Linked DNA regions of Homo sapiens: all the other regions are linked to region 2. Evidence: promoter capture Hi-C in 16 types of primary human blood cells and fetal thymus (Javierre and others, 2016). All regions are on one chromosome and are shown on one strand. The core of a region is centred on a gene start or on the middle of the fragment in contact, and the rest is flanking DNA. Distances in the headings are between cores, read along the strand shown. Region 1 overlaps TBRG4 (transforming growth factor beta regulator 4). Region 2 holds the start of H2AZ2 (H2A.Z variant histone 2). Region 3 overlaps OGDH (oxoglutarate dehydrogenase). Region 4 overlaps OGDH (oxoglutarate dehydrogenase).

Region 1 (4,962 bases), core at 1,452-3,951, 250 kb after region 2:
CATGATATAGTCTGGTATCTGTCTCCACCCAAATCTCAGTTGAATTGTAATCCCCAATGCTGGAGGTGGGGCCTGGTGGGAGGTGTTTGGATCATGGGGACGGACCCCTCATGGTTTGGTGCTGTCTTTGAGACAGTGAGTTCTCCTGAGATTTGGTCTTTTTTGAGACTGAGTCTTGCTCTGTTGCCAGGCTGGAGTGCAGTGGTGTGACCTTGGCTCACTGCAACCTCTGCCTCCCAGATTCGAGCAATTCCCATGCCTCAGGCTCCTGAGTAGCTGAGACTACAGGCATGCACCACTAGGCCCAGCTAATTTTTTTTTTTTTTTGTATTTTAGTAGAGATGGGGTTTCACCATGTTGGCCAGGATGGTCTTGATCTCCTGACCTCGTGATCCGCCCGCCTCGGCCTCCCAAAGTGCTGGGATTACAGGCATAAGCCACCGCGCCCGACCAAGATTTGGTCATTTAAAAGTGTGTGGCATCTCCCCACTCTACACACTCTCTCTCTTGCTCCTGCTTCACCATGTGACATGCCTGTTCCCCCTTTGCCTTCCTACCACGATGGGGAGCCTCCTGAGGCCTCCCCAGAAACAGATCCCACTATGCTTCGTGTACAGCTTGCAGAACCCCATGCCAATTAAACCTCTTTTCTTATAAATTACCCAGTGCACACACATACACACACACCTTTGCAGCAAGATGAATGGAGCTAGAGGCCATTATCTTGTGAAATAACTGAGAAACTGAAAATCAAATATCGCATGTTCTCACTTATAAATGAGAGCTAAACAATGGAGGGGTACACATGGACATAAAGATGGAAATAATAGACACTGGAGACTCCAAATGTGGGGAGGGTGGGAGACAAGGGTTGAAAAACTACCACTGGGTACTATGTTCATTACGTGGGTAATGGGTTCATTAGAAGCCCAAACCTCAGCATGATATAGTATACCCATGTAACAAACCTGCACCTAGTGTACTCCCTAAATCTATTTTTTTTTTTTTTTTTTTTTTGAGACAGTCTGCTTCTGTTGCCCAGGCTGGAGTGCAGTGGCACGATCTCAGCTCACTGCAAGCTCCACCTCCCAGGTTCATGCCATTCTCCTGCCTCAGCCTCCCAAGCAGTTGGGACTACGGGCACCTGCCACCACGCCCGGCCAATTTTTTTGTATTTTTAGTAGAGATGGTGTTTCACTGTGTTGGCCAGGATGGTCTCAATCTCCTGACCTCATGACCCGCCCACCTTGGCCTCCCAAAGTGCTGGGATTACAGGTGTGAGCCCCCGTGCCCGGCCACTCCCTGAATCTTAAAAAAGATATTCTTCCAAAAGACATGCAAATGGCCAAATAAGTAAATGAAAAATGCTGAAAACCATTAGTTATTAGGGAAATAACAAAAACCACAATGAGAAATCACTTTATACGCACTCACATGGCTAAAATAAAACTCAAATTACAAGTGTCATTGAGGATGTAGAGAGATCTGAAACCTTACACACTGCTGGTGGGAATGTAAAACAGTCTAGCAGTTCCTTAAACGACTAAACATAGTTACCATAGACCCAGCAATTCCACTCCTAGGTATATAACCAAGAGAAAAATGAAAACATACATTTATACTCAAACTTGTACAGGAATATTTATAGCAGCATTATTCATGTATTAGTCCATTTTGCATTGCTATAGAAGAATATCTGAGATGGTAATTTATAAAGAAGTTTATTTGGCTCACAGTTCTGCAGGCTGTACAAGCATGGTACTGACATCTGCTTGGCTCCTGGGAAGGCCTTAGGAAGCTTTTACTCATGACAGAAGGTGAACAAGGAGCAGGCATGTCACATGACGAGAGAGGGCAGAACAGATAGGGCAGGAGTTCCCAACAACCAGCTTTCAAGTGAACTAATATAGAGCAAGAACTCACTCATTACAAGGATGGCACCAAGCCATTTATGACAGATGTTCCTATGATCCAAACACTTCCTAACAGGCCCCATTCTCCAACACTGGTGATCCTATTTCATGAGATTTGGAGGGGACAAAATATCCAAACTGTATCAGTTCATATTATCCAGAAGGTGGAAACAATCCACATGTCCATCAATGGATGAATGGATAAACAAAATGTGGCACAAACTATAATGGAATATTATTCAGCCAAATAAAGGAATGAATACTCATACATGCGACATGAATGAAACATGAAAACAATATGCTAAGTAAATGAAGCCAGTCACAAAACACCAAAATATCACATCAGTATATGAGGCTTAGAAAATGTGCAAATTGTGGTGATGGTTGCATGTATCTGCAAAGAGACTAAAAACCACTGAATTATACATTTTTGTTTTCGAGATGGGGTCTCACTCTGTCGCCCAGGCTGGACTGCAGTGGTGCTATCATGGTTCACTGCAGGCTTGACTTCCCAGGCTTAAGTGATCCTCCTACCTCAGCCTCCTGGGTTGCTGGGACGACAGGTGCGTGCCACTGCGGCTAATTCTTGTATTTTAAAAAATAGAGACAGGGTTTTGCCTGTTGCCCAGGGTGGTCTTGAACTCCTGGGCTCAAGATCTGAGGGCCTTGGCCTCCCAAACTGCTGGGATTACAGACGTGAGCCACCACACCTGGCCTAATTATACATTTTAAATGGGTGAAGTGTATGGCATGTGAATTATATTTTAATGAAGTGGTCATAAATAACAAAATAAAAAGCATATTGATTTGAAAGGATAAATACATTCCTGTTTTCAGGACATAAATATCTACATAGGAAATCCAAAGGAATTTTAAAAATGCATAAAGTTTAGCAAGATCACATAAAAATCAATCCCATTTCTATATGCTAACAATCAATGTGTGAATGCCAAAATTAAGCACTACACCACTTACAATTGCTCCAAAATCATGACTTAGGGGTGTGTGTGTATATACGTGTATATATACATATATACACACATATATACTTATATACACATGTACATATATATACACACACACACACACACATATATATTTTTTGAGACAGAGTCTTGCTCTGTTACCCAGGCTGGAGTGCAGTGGCACAATCTTAACTCACTGCAGCCTCCACCTCCCGGGTTCAAGTGATTCACCTGCCTCAGCCTCCTGAGTAGCTGGGATTACAGGTGCCTGTCATCATGCCCGACTAATTTTTATATTTTTAGTAGAGACAGGGTTTCACAATGTTGGCCAGGTTGGTCTTGAATTCCTGGCCTCAGGCGATTCGCCCGCCCCAGCCTCCCTAAGTGCTGGGATTACAGGCGTGATCCCACCACACCTGGCCGACTTAGGTAATATAAAACAAAAACTACAGGCTGGGTGTGCCTGATGGTGCCCAGTGAAGCCAGCACAAACTACCCCAATGCTTGGGTGAGTGGCCAAGCATCAGAGCAGTGACTAGACTTTTTCTTTTTGGGGAAACAGCCTAGGGTTGGGAGCCTACAGTGCTGAGGGCTGTGGGCCTCTCCATCTCAGCTCCACCCCACTGTCCTACTCTCTGTTCTGTATGGCTGGAGGCAACCCAGTTCCCTGACTGCTATTTAGTCAGGTTCTGCCAATAGGTGTCTCTAAGGAGAGGCTGGAAGGTAGAAAGCTTGTTGCCTCCCAGCACCTGGTAATCCCCGCAGCAGCAGGGAGGCTGCCAGGGTCCTGTTTGGGCAGCCAGTTCCTAGATGACAGCACAAGGCTCTGGTCAGGGTGGTGAAGACAACGATGGAGTTTGGCTCTTGGTGCCGTGGTGTCAGCCAAGTGGGATCTTCTCCTCTCCCAGAGCCAGCGCCTCCCAAGTGCTCACCCAGCCCTCACATCACCTGTCACCACATGCTGTCAGGGTGCCTTTCACTCAGCTAAGTGTGAGACAACTGATGGGAGAAAGCCTCCCAGGATGGCTGTGGTTCAGTAGCCACAGCTCCATCAGAACCCCCAGCCATGCACTGAATCTCCAATCAGCTTCCCTGGGAAGCTCCTCTGCTCTGGAGGTTCAGAATTCTAGGACTCCACCTGCCTGCTGGGGCTGATACAGACCCCTACGCAAGAGGCCGGCATATGTGAATAAGCACTCATGGAGGGAAGAAGCTGGGAGAGACAGGCAGGTAACAACCCAGGTCTGTCCCTAAAGCAGCCCTCTTGGGCTGGGCGTGGCGGGGGAGTGCACAGGGCAGACTGGAGAACCACGCCCTGCTCAACAAAGCAGACAGACAAGTGCTGACAGTGCAGAGGGTGACCAAGCCTGGGAAGGCCCCAGGGGTCCAACACCAAAATTAAAGGTTTATTATACACAAGAGGACGTTCTGTCCCTCAGAGTGGCTGGCCACCCTCCCCACTCTGGCCAAGGTCCTGCACAGAGGTTTGTCCTCAAGGGTGACCCTTCTTGGCCGCCCACAGCTAGACCTCCGGCGGAGAGGCACGCAGTCCATGCTGCTGGCACAAGTCACTTGGCCAGCTCCTCAGCCACCGCTTTGCGCATCTTGTCCTTGAGGTAGGCGCCTTTCTGCCATTCAGACTTGAGTTCCAGCCACTCATAGAATGGGACCTAGAAGGAGGCAGGGGAGACAGGTCACATGGGCAAGGAGATCCCTTCCAGCCAGTGGCTCTGCCTGCTTGCCTGCTGTCCTCACATTGACCCCTCACCCAACACCTCTGCTGACCAACAGCTCTGCACACCTGCCCCTTGGCCTCCAAGTCTTCAAGGCAGAGCCCATGAACTGCAGGCAGTGCGGGCGGGGAGAGGTGCTAGCACTGTCAGTGCTGGAGGGGTCTGCAAACTACTCGGAGGCCCAAGAAGGGCTTCTGAATTTTAAACAGTTAAAAAACTCACAACAACCCAAAGAAGCAAACAGAACCCTTGTGTGGCTCATGAAGCCACATGTTCATTCACTGGCCCTTCCCAGGGAAGGTGACCACCTTTGATCTTAACCAAGGTCTCCCAGGTGTGAAACCAGAGTCA
Region 2 (4,741 bases), core at 177-2,676:
AAAAAAAAACCACAAAAAACTAGAATCATGAAAATCATCTGTTTGAGCAAATCCTTTTACAGATTAGATGTAAGCTGTACCTCAGTTTGATAAAGTACTATAAAGTACTTTACAATAACAATAAACTATACGTGAGACGTTGGAAGCAATTATCCCTAAAGTCTATTCCAGCTCTAAGATTTGGGTTTTTTACAATAACAATAAACTATACGTTAGACGTTGGAAGCAATTATCCCTAAAGTCTATTCCAGCTCTAAGATTTGGGTATTTTACAATAACCAAACATTGTCCTCTCGACTGGCCAATCTGTTTACAGTTAGGTGTTATGTCTATTCAATACCATATCTGTCACATCAAGCACAAGACAAATCATCTAATACTATCTGCAGTATGATAAATGACAGCTTGGTGCTAACTTTTAAGCAGGTAGCTCCCGTTGAAGTAACCTTTCAACAGAATGCTTAAAGCACGAATACCGGCAAAAATAAGATTCCATAACAGTCTTATTATTTTTACACAATCTTTGATGCAACTCAGAGCGTATCCTTTAGCACCTTCTCTTTTCCCCTCAACTTTAAAATGGGGCTGAAGTTCTATTCACTTTCATTTTTTTAAAGCCACACTCTTCTTATCTAGATCTGAATTTCAGAATGAAAAGATGAATACTTTAAGACTGAAAATCCATAGCAAGGGCAAAGGAAAGTACTGTTGTATAATGAAAACCGCAAACTGCAAGGGGCTCAGAAGATAACGGGCGTTCATTTCTAACCTGTGCAATCACCTAGAACAAATCGTGTGGTTCTGGTCTATAAAACCATTCTTTGTCGCTCAAAAGACCACAAATACAAGCACCCTTTCGCAGAAACCCTCAAACTGACTGCCAGGGAGATTACGTAACCAAACATCGCCAAAGACTTATCTAACTTGTACAGCGGCAGCCTGTTTGACCTCATTCATACAGAGAAGCGATCACATTAAGATCCAGCACTTGTTTCTACATTTCCAAGCCGGATTCTGCCGTCCTCCTCCTTCTAAGACGGGCGGTGCAGCGTCACAAGCGTCGGGACAGATCTATCCGGCTCGGAACAGACTTCGCGCTCTACCCGGCCAGGCCCAGCTCTCACCCGGGGACCCGTGTCGGGCTCCGCAGCTGGGACATGGCGCCCCCCGGCGGGCGGCGAGGGGCTCGGCCGGACGAAGCCCAGACACCCGCAAACTCCCGACTCCACAGGTAGCGGCGCCGACGCCAGGGCCTCCGCGCTCTGCTCTCCCAGGCCCCGTGCCCCCGGCCCACCCGGCCGCCCTTACCATGTTCTCGGCGCCGACTCCGCCTCCGCTCGGCCGCGCGCCCTCCCGCTGCCGACCCGCGCCGCCGCCGCCGCTCTCGCAGCACCGACCGCCGCCGCCGGAGCCGGACAATACCCCGTGCCCGCCTCGCGCTGCTGTGGCCAATGCCCGCTTGTCTTGCTGGTTCGAACCCCAGCGGCTGTTCAATCGCGCGCCTCCTTCTAGCCAGACCCCGCCCCCCCGGCACCGCCTTCCTAACGGCTGTTTGTTTTTGCACACGGCACGCGGAGGCGGGGCCTCCAGCCCCAATAGTGACGCGCTCTCTGCCTTTCACCAGGCGCCCAAGCCTGACGAACAGAAAGGCAAACCAATGAGATTGGACGCCTCGCAGACGAAAGCCAATAAAAATATCGCCCGCGAGCAAGGGAGGCGGGCCACTGGGAAGGACAGCAAAATTAGCTAATAAGGTGAAGCGATTGCAGGCGCTGTGGCTTTCCCGCCCATTCGCGGCGTTGGTTTTCCCGCTTCTGAGACTTGTTTGGGGAGGTAAAGAGTGTTGGACGTGCTTCTCCTGGTGGGTTTTCACAGACTGTGAGGATTTATTCGTCTTAGAACGTGTGGATCAGGAGGGCGCTGGGTTTCAAGGTTAGGCAGGCCTCATGCTCAGCCGTATTCTGGCGGACTGACTACCCTGACGTCCTCTCAGCGCGGACCCTGACAAGGTCCGCGGCAGGCTGAGGCGGGAGAATCGCTTGAACCCCGGAGGCGGAGGTTGCAGTGAGCCGAGATCGCGCCACTGCACTCCAGCTGGGCGACGCATCGTCTCAAAACAAACAAACAAAAACAAAAGCTATCAATTGGCTACATATTGTTATTTGTATGACAAATTCTTTTTCCTTTTTTAGAGATGGAGTCCTGGGACTACAGGCGCGCGCCCCAATGCCCAGCTAACTTTTGTATTTTTAATAGAGACGGGGTTTCTCCGTGTTGGTCAGGCTGGTCTCGAACTCCTGACCTCAGGTGATCTGCCCCCCTTTGCCTCCCAAAGTACTGGGATTACAGGCGTGAGCCACCGCGCCCGGCATGTATTACAAATTCTAAGAACACGAAGATAATGGGGCCGGCTTGGTGGCGCGAACCTGTAGCCTCACCTACTGTCAAGACTGAGACAGGAGGATCTCTTGAGCCCAGGAGGTCGAGGCTGCAGTGAGTCATGATCGCACCACTGCACTCCAGCTTGGGAGACAGAATATACCCTGTCTAAAAAATAATAATAAAAAAAAAGGTAATGGATGAGGCCGATAGTCAGGAATGAAATGACTTTAAACAATTGGGTATGCATGGGATTGGGTATGTGTGTATGTGGGGGCAGAGGGTGGGCATAACCGAAGTCCCATACTCATGTCCCTCTAGGCCTAATACATTTTGCAGACCTCACAGAGCTCAGACTGTTGTGAGCCGTTTTTCTTTTCTCAACCTCTTCAGTGTGTTTATTTTGCTTACATCATTAGGTTAAAATTTGGAGGATAACTCCCAGCTAGAAAGGAAGAAAAGCTCTAAAGTGGAATCGCCTTCCCCCGGAAGCTGTTGTAAAAATTAAAGGATGTATGTGAGTGCACAGGCTCTCCAGCGATCGTTTTTCTTCCACAGTGTTAACACAATTTATTTATTTATTTACTTTTTGAGATGAAGTCTCACTCTGTTGCCCAGGCTGGATGGAGTGCAGTGGTGTGATCTGGGCTCACTGCAACCTCCGCCTCCTGAGTTCAAGCGATTCTCCTGCCTCAGCCTCCTGGGTAGCTGGGACTAAAGGCTCCCACCACCATTCCCCGCTAGTTTTTGTATTTTTAGTAGAAATAGGGTTTCACCATGTTGGCCAGGCTGGTCTTGAACTCCTGACCTCAAGTGATCCTCTCGCCTCAGCCTCCTAAAGTGCTGGGATTACAGGCGTGAGCCACCGCGCCTGGCCTGTTTCCACAATTAAAAAAGGCCCATCACCCTATCATGATCATCTCTATTACAGTCTGGACAATATGAGCTTTCTGGGAGAGCCAGCTTCATTTCATAACTGAAGAAATGGGCTTAGGTGAACTTAGTCATTTGCCTGAGACCGCATAGCCTGTAGATAACCAAGATACCAGCTCACATTTGTTCCAACTCATTCCAGCTTTAAATTCTTTCATTCTTTTCACAGTATGATGCATTGACTGTGCTAGAATGTGTTCTTGGTGTTGGTGAGTTAATAGTGAAAAAAACAAGTTTCTGCCTTAGTGGAGATTCTGTTGTCATAGGATTTTCCCAGGCTGGCACTTTAGAAATTTATATCCAGGCTGATGATAGCTGTTCCAAAGTTTGAATCAGGAGAAGCAACTTTGGGGAAGTGAGTCTTTAAAAAAAGGTAACTTAAATTCAAGAAGAGGAAGAGGGTGAGCTTCTAAGTAAGAATTTGGAAAAATACGGATGAAGGTACAGACAAGTGTGAGGAAGGGTGTCCAGTGAAATAGGAAGGAATGGAGCAATGTGCCCAGATTAATAGAAGCCTCAAAACTAGGTAGAAGAGTGGAGTTACTTCAGTAAAAATAGCCATTGTTAATTCCTGCTCCTCTGTGTTTCTGGCCTCAGTGGATGGCATTACCAATCTACCAAGGCATAAGCCTGTGAGTTATTCCTTTAACAAATCACTCAGTGCCTACTGTTTGCAGGCACTGTGCTAGGTACTGAGGATTTGGTGATTAGCAAAATAGACATTGTCCTTGCCCTTGTGGTCCTCTGCAGCGGGAGTCAGATGTTAAAGAAATAAACAAATACCATATGTGAATTATAATAAGTTCAAGTGTGCTGAAGGAAAAGAACAGGGTGCTTTAAGAGAGAAACAGGGAATGTAGTTTAGCTGGTGTGGGTGGTCCACAAAGAGCATGCAGGCTGGGCGTGGTGGCTCACTCCTGTAATCCCAGCAATTTGGGAGGCCAAGGTGGGTGGATCATCTGAGGTCAGGAGTTCGAGACCAGCCTGGCCAACATGGCAAAACCCTGTCTCTACTAAAAATGCAAAAATTAGCCAGGCGTGGTGGCGCATGCCTGTTATTCCCAGCTACTCAGGAGGCTGACGCAGGAAAATCACCTGGGCCCAGGAGAGCCTGGGAAGCGGAGGCTGCAGTGAGCTAAGATTGCGCCACTGCACTTCAGCCTGGGCGACAGAGCAAGACTCCACTCCATCTCAAAAAAAAAAAAAAAAAGAAGAGTTGCCCTTGTGAAGGGGGGCTGAAAGAAGTGTCCAATAATGTATGAGAAAGCACCTAGCACTGTACCTAGCACATAATATCCAATAAATGTTAACTTCCTTCCTTAACAGGAAAATCATTTTCTCACCACTCTCTACCCCTCAGCCTTCATGTCATTGATTCAGATTTTGATGAAAGTGGAGTTAGGTTGAAAAAGACTGGTTCTCATTGTAG
Region 3 (4,496 bases), core at 1,866-4,365, 220 kb before region 2:
CTCAGACTGGAGTGCAGTGGTGCAATCTCAGCTCACTGCAACCTCCACCTCCGAGGCTCAAGCGATTCTCCTGCCTCAGCCTCCTGAGTAGCTGGGATTACAGGCCTGTGCCACCACGCCCGGCTAATTTTTGTATTTTTAGTAGAGACGGGGTTTCACCATGTTAGTCGGGCTGGTCTTGAACTCCTGGCCTCGTGATCCGCCTGCCTTGGCCTCCCAGAGTGCTGGGATTACAGGCGTGAGCCACGGCGCCTGGCCATGTGCATGTTTTTCAAGGGAGATAATCCATAACTTCTGTCCAAATTTCAAAGCATCTGTCACCCATGAAAGTTTAGGATCCATAGCCTTAGAGGCATTTCACTTTATTTGTGCTCTTATTTTAGATCACATAGTTTAAATAGACATAATAATAGTTTAAATAGAGATAATAAAATTAGAAGTGCTGTAGGATTTAGATAGATCATCTATCTCATCTTCTGTTTAAACATCAGAAATGTCCTGAGGTCGGATTCCGTACTTATTTTCAGAGAGCTTATGGGGGGCTGCAAGGACTAAACTCATATAGCAGAAAAGGAACAAACTCAGCATCTTCCTCTCCTGCCCTTTGGCACTACTTTCCCATTGTTGTTTTTATTTTTATTTATTTTATTTATTTTTTTGAGATGGAGTCTCACTCTGTCACCCAGGCTGCAGTGCAGTGAGGTGATCTCAGCTCACTGCAACCTCCACCTCCTGGTTCAAGTGATTCTCGTGCCTCAGCCTCCCGAGTAGCCAGGATTACAGATACGCGCCACCACGCCTGGCTAATTTTTGTATTTTTAGTAGAGACGGGGTTTCACCATGTTGGCCAGGCTGGTCTCAAACTCCTGACCTCAATCAGTCTGCCCACCTCAGCCTCCCAAAGTGCTGGGATTACAGGCGTGAGCCACTGCACCCAGCCCCATTGTTATTTTTAAATCTGTGTTTTATAGTGTTTCCAAGCATACATAACAGTAGAGAGAAGAGTAGATGATAAGCCTAATGAGGAGACTGGTCACGCAGCTTCAACAGCTGTCTTAAAAATCTATTCCCTACCCCAGTGACTTTTTTATTTGTTGGTTTATTTGGGGTTTGAGGAGAGTAGACACTGGAGTATTTTAAGGCAAATTCCAGACCTGTGTCATTTCTGGCATAAATGCATCAGTGTAACTAACTGTTAAGTAATTGTTTTCATAACCACACCCAATAAAATTAACAGGCTAATTCTCTAATAGAATTTTTTCTCAGTCCATGTTTAAATATTTACTCTTCTCTTAAAGCTGCCCTTTTACATTTTGTTTTGTTTTGTTTTTTAATTTTTATTTTACTTTTTTTTACATTTGGTTTTACACTTTATAATTGGTCGTTGTATTCCTTATTTTTAATTTTATTTATTTTTTAATTAAAAACTTTTTTTTAATGTAAGTAGGAGCCATGCCTGTAATCCTGATACTTTGGGAGGCTGAGGCAGGAGGATTGCTTGAGTCCAGGAGTTTGGGACCAGCCTGGACAAGGCAAGGCCTTGTCTCTATTAAAAATAAAATAGAAAGCTTTTTAAAAAAATAAAAAAATGTAAATAGAGATGGAGTCTCTTTATGTTGTCCAGACTGGTCTTGAACTCCTGGGCTCAAGCAATCCTCCCAGCTTGGCCTCCCAAAGTGCTGGGATTACAGATGTGAGCCACCACACCCAGCCTCTTAAAAAAAACTTCTATTCTTAAAATGCTTAACTGATGTGAAAATTATATTTGTGGTAAAATATTTTAGCAAATCAGAGCTGCAAGTACCTTTTTTACCCTAAGTCCACTCCCCAGAACAGAATCCGGTTAACTAGCTGACCTGGGTCTGTCTCTGTGGTGGGCCCATCTGCCATCTCCCTTTTGTTCCTACCTTTGGTCCTGTCCTAGACTTTCGTCTCTGTTCTAGTCTGGCATTTGTGCTCCTCACTGACCCCTCTTAAGAGCCTTCAGCGGTGGCCTGGGCTGTCAGCCTATGAAACCCTCCTCATTAGGGTCTCAGCATATTTGAGGTCACATCAAATGATGACATCTTTATTTATGTCTTTAAGACACAGTCAGAGCTAAGTTATCCTTGTTAATGTTTAAGACAAACAGGTAATTGAGAACTGCTAAGCCCCCATGAGTCTGGGTGTTGATCTCATTTTGTTTTGTAGGGACAGGTGCCCACCTACAGCTGTAGCATGGTGTTGAGTTCCTTGTGATGCATCTGCCAGGTTCTGGCCCTGCTGAGGAAGAGCCAGGATTAGGTCCTGAGGGAGTGGAAGGAGCTGGGGCCTGTTGTTCTTCTCCCAACAGTGCCTTCAGCAGCTGCCTTGAGGGTGCCATCATTGGCCCTGCTTTTCTTCTAGGCCCTCCTGGCCATTTGGCTTTCTCACAGCTTGCTTTGTACCTCAGGGCTCTTCCTCTGCTCTGTGCTTTCCTCTGCCCTGCCCACCTGCCTAAAGCCTGCCTCCCTGTTCTTGTTAACTGATGCCCATTTCTTTTCTTTCCTTTTTCTTTTTCTTTTCTTTTTTTTTTTTTTTTTTGAGACGAGTCTCGCTCTGTCACCAAGTCTGGAGTGCAGTGGCGCAGTCTCGGCTCTCTGCAACTTCCGCTTCCTGGGTTCAAGCAATTCTCGTACCTCAGTCTCCCAGCTAGCTGGGATTACAGACGTGCCCCATCACGCCTGGCTAATTTTTGTATTTTTAATAAAGACGGGGTTTCACCATGTTGGCCAGGCTGGTCTTGAACTCCCGACCTCAGGTGATCCGACCGCCTCGGCCTCCCAAAGTTCTGGGATTATGGGCGTGAGCCATCATGCCCGGCCTGATGCCTGTTTCTTGATGGTTTTTTCTTCTTGCACTTTTCACGTGTCAGCTCCTAAAGTGTGTACATGTGGTCGCTGCAGGAGGGAGGGTCTCTATGCGTTCAGATTACAGGTGCAGGCTGTTGGCCTGCTGCTGAGTCTGGCATCGCTGCTCATCTGTCGACACCGTTCTGCTTCCTCCTTTCGTGCTTATGAAACACAGTACTGGTGTTTTCTATGGGTGAAACTAAGTGGAGGAAAAGCACAGATACACAAACTGTCCCATTATGCAGTGTTATGGGCCTTTTCACTCTGCAGTGTTGAAACTGCCTTGGCCTCACTTTGAAAAATAGGACTATGGTACCCATGGTTGTGTCCTGGCCTGGGGTTCCTCCCATGGCAGGAGCCCTGCTCCAAGTTACCCTCCTAGCCGCTGCATGTGCGGTGAAGGGGCTTCCCACAGTGGGTATGTGGAAGTCTGATGGAAGTCTGATGTGCTCATAAGGAGATCTGATATGTTCACGTGACAAGGAACAGCTGTGTTGAAAAATCTGCAGAACACTTTGGTGCCACTCAAGTTATTTATTTCTGGGAATAATTCACAAGGCACTTTAGGCAATGCCAGTTGGGTGGTTGGAATGCATTTTGAGTATTTTAATCTTTTATGTTTGATTTATGAATGACTTATCAGAAATATATGTAGTCATTCCTTGGTATCTGTGGGGGATTGGTTCCAGGGCACACTGAGGATACTAAAATCCAAGGAAGCTCATGTCCCTTGTATAAAATGAAATATAAACTATGCACGTTCTCCCATATACTTTAAATCATCTCTAGATTACTTGTAATACCTAATACAAGGTAAATGCTATGCAGATAGTTGTTATACTTCATTGTTTGTGGCAGCAGTCCCCAACTCCTTTGGCACCAGGGACCAGTTTCGTGGAAGACAATTTTTCCATGGACTGAGGGATCAGGGGAGGATGGCTTTGCAGTGAAACTGTTCCACCTCACATCAGGCATTAGTTAGATTCTCATAAGGAGTGAACTTAGATCCCTTGCATGCACAGCTCACAATCCAGTTGGCTCTCCCATGAGAATCTAATGCCCCCGCTGATGTGACAGGAGGTGGAGCTCAGGTGGTAATGCTCGCTTGCCGCTCACTTCCTGCTATGCAACCCAGTTCCAAACAGGCCACTGACCAGTACTGGTCTGTGGCCCGGGGGTTGGGGATCCCTGGTTTAGAGAATAATAACAGGAAAAAAAAGTGTACATGTTCAGTACAGGCAGTTTTTTACCAACTATTTTCAATCCACGTTTGGTTGAATCCATGGATGCAGAACCCACAGATACGGAGGGCTGACTGTATACATAAACTGCATGGTCTACGTAAATGGGGTTTCAGCGATGAGCTTTGAAGTTACCCCTTGATGATTTTTTGTTTTTGAAGATTCAGGAGGTACATGTGTGGGTTTGTAACATGGGTACGTTAAGTAATGGTGGGAATTGGGTTTCTAGTGTACCCATCACCCAGATAATGAACATTGTACCCAATAGGCAATTTTTCAACCCTCACTCTCCTACCACCCTCCCCCACCGCCACTTGATAATCTTTAACTTCACATGTTAAGAGCAATCTCAGCACTTGTGGCTTTTTGTGTTAAATCAGCTAAA
Region 4 (5,004 bases), core at 533-3,032, 190 kb before region 2:
TTTTTAAAATTAATTTTAGAACAGTTTCTCAATTATGTGTGAATTATGTTCCGTAATTGTGCCAGGTGATGGCTGGAACAGAGATAAGTTTTTTTTTTTTGAGATGGAGTTTCGCTCTTGTTGCCCAGGCTGGAGTGCAATGGCACGACCTCATTTCACTGCAATCTCCGCCTCCCGGGTTCAAGCAATTCTCCTGCCTCAGCCTCCCAAGTAGCTGGGATTACAGGCACCCACCACCATGCCCAGCTAATTTTTTGTATTTTTAGTAGAGACCGGGTTTCACCATATTGGCCAGGCTGGTCTTGAACTCCTGACCTCAGGTGATGCCCTCGCCTCAGCCTCCCAAAGTGCTGGGATTACATGTGTGAGCTACCGCACCTGGCCAGAGATAACTTTTTAATGAAGTGTTAAAGTTAGGGGCCAGTTTCCAGGTAAATCTCCAGATGCCCATCTTAATTTGTGCCAGGCTATACTATAAACCTCATTTCCCTGGGGAAAGAGGGTTGAGAGTTCCAACATGAGATACTTTATTTTTTTATTTTATTTTATTTTTAAAATAGAGACAGGGTCTTATTATGTTGCCCAGGCTCGTCTCAGACTCCTGGGCTCAAGCAACCCTCCTGCCTTGGCCTTTCAGAGTGCTAGAATTACAGCAGTGAGCCACCGCGCCCAGCTGACATGTATTAAATACACATTTCTCTTCACTCACATTCCATAGTGAGGTTCCTTGACAGCAAATTTGCAGATCTGGAGAATGAGGCACCAACCTCATGTTATAATATCCCTGAATGGATCCAGTCAGAGTGGGAGGTAGTGGCAGCCCAACGTCTTCTGGTAGGAGGGCTCCTAGGGAGTCTTTTTCCACTGGCTCTTGAAGAAGGGTCATCAGTTGGGGTACCACGGTAGATATGGGTGTATATTGCAAAACACTAGAACCAGAGTATTATCAATGGAAAGGTCTAGACAGTGAGGCCCACTCATTTGCCTAATTAGAAACAGTTAGAAACTCCTGCTTAATTAGAAATTCTTGCCCTCAGTTTTTTCTTGCTGTTGTTTGGTTTTTTTTAATTATTATTTTTGTTTTTTGAGACAGAGTCTTACTCTGTCGCCCAGGCTGGAGTGCAGTGGTGCAATGTCAGCTCACTGCAACCTCCACCTCCAGGTTCAAGTGATTCTCGTGCCTCAGCCTCTCAAGTAGCCAGGATTACAGATGTGCACCACCATGCCCGGCTAATTTTTGTATTTTTAGTAGAGAAGGGGTTTCACTGTGTTGGTCAGGCTGGCCTTGAACTCCTGGCCTCAAGTGAGTCGCCCGTCTCGGACTCCCAAAGTGTTGGGATTACAGAGGTGAGCCACTGCGCCTGGCCCAATTTTATCTTTCAAGTGTAGCATTCGAATTAGTTTCCCACTTAAAAATGCCACTGTCTGTGGTTTCGGTATAAATTCTGAGTATAACTTTTCACAGTGACAAAAATGATTGAGATGTACTTTACTGGGTTTTTTGTTGTTGTTTTGTTTTTTGAGACAGTCTCTTTCTGTAGCCCAGGCTGGAATGCAGTGGCACGATCTCGACTCACTGCAACCTCTCCTTCCAGATTCAACCAATTCTCCTGCCTTAGCCTCCTGAGTAGCTGAGACTACAGGCATGCGCCACCACACCAGGCTAATTTTTGTATTTTTAGTAGAGACAGGGTTTTACCATGTTGGCCAGGCTGGTCTCGAACTCCTGACCTCATGTAATCCACCTGCCTAGGCCTCACAAAGTGCTGGGATTACAGGCGTGAGCCACTGTGCCTGGCCTAATTAAATTTGTTTTTTTTTATTTTTATTTTATTTTATTTTTTTTTGAGACGGAGTCTCGCTCTGTTGCCCAGGCTGGAGTGCAGTGGCAGGATCTCAGCTCACTGCAACCTCTGCCTCCCAGGTTCAAGCAATCCTCCTGCTTCAGCCTCCCACATAACTGGGATTACAAGCATGTGCCACTATGCCTGGTTAATTTTTGTATTTTTAGTAGAGACGGTGTTTCACCATGTTGTCCAGCCTGGTCTCAAACTCCTGAGCTCAAGTGATCCACCTGCTTTGGTCTCCCAAAGTGCTGGGATTATAGGCATGAGCCACCACGCTCCGTGAGATGTACTTTAATGTGAGATTTAAACATAATTAAAAGAGAATTAAAAACCAATTGTATAAATAAATGGGAAGAAAGTGTGAAACTTCTCTCCCATTTACCATTGATGTTTACAAATTGCTAATACCATTTTAGGAAATGAACGTGAGTTAAATAGTTAAAAAGTCAATTTAAAAGTTGAAAAATGTGGCAAAATGTCAACTACTTAGTTCTTGCCTTTCTCTGACAACCTGCTGTCATTAACAGCACAGCGAGTCATGACAAAGTTTCCACATATCCTCCTGACCTTCCAGGGCTCTCCGGTTTGTTCCTTTGATGGCTGAGAAAAATAAGCTAAAAATAGAGTTGACGTTTAATTAGCTTTTGTAATTTCAGAGTGATATAGAGCAGTTCATTTAGTAAGCATTGATTGCTATGTGCAGCGTGCTGTGTGCCACAGATAACCGAGGAGCTGGAGACGAGGTTTCCTAAGTGACTCGGGAGGGCGGGGCCAAGCTAAGAACATAACCAGGGTGGTTGAAGCCATGGGCGATATGGTCACCCTCAAGGAGAATGAAGCTGGCCAAGCAGACATCTGACATTTGAGAAGATTCTTTGACTGGAGATACCCAGAAACTGGTAAACCGAGTCCCCTAGTTCCCAGCGTCACATTCCTGCTTCTGTGCTTCACTTGGAAGTACTGTGGCCAAATCTCCATCCGCTCCCTCTCTCCTCCCTCACAGCACCTGCACTCTTCAAGAAGTAATTTACAATGCTTCAAAGCACTCAGGTGTTGGAAAATCTGTGTGCTTTCTGTAAATTGTGACAACCAGAATATCTTCTATTGTTCTCTTAACTCTCCTCTTCTTTGGTTTGTGTCTTTTGTTTGCCTTTTATTTTAAAAATATAAAAAAGTACAGATAAAAGAGCATTCACATACTCAGTACTAAGAATGTAAACATTTTACCACATTGCCTTTAGATTTTTAAAAATGGGTATGAGTATTTAAGGTTCCTTTCGAGGCCCTCCCCTGTGTAGATCCTTACCTGGAGTCTCCAGGGTAGCTAACATACACCTCACTTATGGCATCTTGACATGGTCTCATGTCTTGGTTTTGAAGATTGAAGGAGAAAATTTAAGATTCTTCATCCTTGCCTTAAGCAAAATATCGACATTTAGATATTCTGTTGTCTTAAGAGCCACTTGGCTCTGAGTTCTTCAGTGGTTGTTGTTCCCTGGGGGAAGGAGACAGTGTGGCTTGCCCAGGACTGGAGACTAGCCCCTGTCACAGCCCTAGGAAGCAGGCCTGTTTCTTGGGGTCTGAGTCTGACTTCAAAGGAAGCACTTGCTGGCCTTTCTCTGCACTCCCAGTACAGGGAGCATACCCAGTGACAGCACTCTGAGTGCTCAACCATCAGCTTCTCTGTGTGCCTGTGTTACTGCCTACCTTCCTGACCCCATCCCCCAGGCCCACAAGCCCAGACAGTAAGGGTCAGGAGCATGTTTTGTGTATCCAAATAAATGCCTTGATTTCACCAGTGGCTCAGAAAGCTGTTATGTATAGTAGAAATCCGATGAAAAGTTTACAGGTAGAAGGAAGTGTACAGCTGTGGAGATGCAGCTGTGGCTCTTGGGTTGTTTTCAGCTAGCAAGCACTTCTTTCCTAGTTTGCCTTCTTGAAATGGGAGATCAAGGAATCCTTCCATTCTTTAGAATTCTTCAAAATCTTACGGTTTAGAGTAGTCTGCCACCTGAATCTAGTGCTGAGAAATATCTGCTCTAAAAATTAGGCTTTTTCATTTTCTTTTCCTCAATTTTCATCTCAAAGTAGTGACTTCCCAGGAAAGTGCTGTTATCCGCCACTTCTTGAAGCTAAGGAGATGAGGAGCTCTCAAATGACGCTGCCTGATGGCTTTCCATCGTCAGGGTGCTAACCTCCCCTCCTTCTGATTCACCTTATTCCAGCTGTTCTATGAATCATTTCCATGTTTAATAAAATTGACCCCCTGACCATGTAACCCACCCACTTCTCCCTTGATGTGTGTGTGTGTCCCTGTGATGGTGTCTGTGCTACCTGTTACTGTGGTAATGGTGTAGGGTTTTGGTGTTTGGGTCTTTTTTAAACTAACTCTCACCTGTCTTTTTCCTTCTGCGCTCACCCATGATACCCCACTCTGCCTCTCAGATCTTGCAGTTTTCAAGGAACGACTTCGAATGCTAACAGTAGGAGGTATGAAAATAATGAGCTTTTCACCTTTTCAGAGTTGAGGACTTCATTTGAATAGGATGTGCAACTTTTCCTAGCATGCAATATGGGGAAAGTTGACGCAACTTCTGTCACGTGTTTTTAAGTTTGTTAATTGTTCTGAAATGTGTTTTTCCCTTCCTTTAATTATTAACCAATAAGTAGAGCTACTTATATGGTATCGTTTTGTTTCTGTTCATTTGTGTTTCAAAGAGCACTTTTCATCTTCACGTGTGCTTCATCGCTTCACTGTGAGCTGCCATCTTCAGCATAATTCACCTTTAGCTGCTGCCATAGCCAGCTGGGCACATGAAGCCATGTTCAGCTCTGCATGGTGGCTTGTCCTGTCCTCCACATTCTGTGCTGAGGCTTTGACTGGACTCTGGATTCTTCCAGATTCTGCTTCCTGGGCATTTTGGGCAAGATTTCCAAAATGTTTTATGTTTGAAGGCCAACTGAAGTATTAATAAAAACTTACTGAGAACTCTTAGTGACCCTCGGTTGGGCAAAACACATTTGAGGAATCCAGAGTCGAAATGCTGGGGGATCATCAGCCTGTTGTCATCCACCCTGGTGGCCAGTCTCTTCTTTACACTCTGGCTTCTCTAAGCAGTTATCTTTTTTATCATCCTTCTAATATCTGTGAAACTCT

Evidence for each region. Contacts are between HindIII fragments. The CHiCAGO score rates a contact against its expected background, and 5 or more counts as called.
Region 1: a fragment that was not itself captured here is called in contact with the fragment with the promoter of H2AZ2 in region 2 in 1 of 17 cell types (naive CD8 T cells); the score reaches 6.6 in naive CD8 T cells.
Region 3: a contact is called between a fragment that was not itself captured here and the fragment with the promoter of H2AZ2 in region 2, in 12 of 17 cell types (total CD8 T cells, monocytes, naive CD4 T cells and 9 more). The highest score is 11.2, in total CD8 T cells.
Region 4: a contact is called between a fragment that was not itself captured here and the fragment with the promoter of H2AZ2 in region 2, in 6 of 17 cell types (total CD8 T cells, naive CD4 T cells, naive CD8 T cells and 3 more). The highest score is 7.6, in total CD8 T cells.

Annotation. Positions count from the first base shown.
Region 1 is chr7:45,095,879-45,100,840 of GRCh38, forward strand. It overlaps TBRG4 (transforming growth factor beta regulator 4), which reads right to left. Exons shown (of 11, transcript NM_004749.4): 11 at 4,222-4,548. The coding sequence ends at 4,447. Among named protein-coding and RNA genes, the nearest start is that of SNORA5A, 6.1 kb to the right of the region's middle. The HindIII fragment of the contact is 1,811 bases long and covers 1,797-3,607 here.
Region 2 is chr7:44,846,661-44,851,401 of GRCh38, forward strand. It overlaps H2AZ2 (H2A.Z variant histone 2), which reads right to left and starts at 1,427. Exons shown (of 5, transcript NM_012412.5): 1 at 1,309-1,427. The coding sequence starts at 1,311. H2AZ2-DT (H2AZ2 divergent transcript) reads left to right here and starts at 1,811. Exons shown (of 2, transcript NR_187581.1): 1 at 1,811-1,861; 2 at 2,799-2,905. RefSeq lists enhancers at 1,010-1,567, 1,568-2,126 and silencers at 1,053-1,442, 1,703-1,762. The HindIII fragment of the contact is 6,622 bases long and covers 1-4,741 here.
Region 3 is chr7:44,627,037-44,631,532 of GRCh38, forward strand. The region is part of intron 2 of OGDH (oxoglutarate dehydrogenase); the gene reads left to right. Among named protein-coding and RNA genes, the nearest start is that of OGDH, 23 kb to the left of the region's middle. RefSeq lists an enhancer at 2,772-2,821. The HindIII fragment of the contact is 3,098 bases long and covers 1,567-4,496 here.
Region 4 is chr7:44,652,026-44,657,029 of GRCh38, forward strand. All of the region lies in intron 4 of OGDH (oxoglutarate dehydrogenase), which reads left to right. Among named protein-coding and RNA genes, the nearest start is that of OGDH, 48 kb to the left of the region's middle. The HindIII fragment of the contact is 7,641 bases long and covers 1-5,004 here.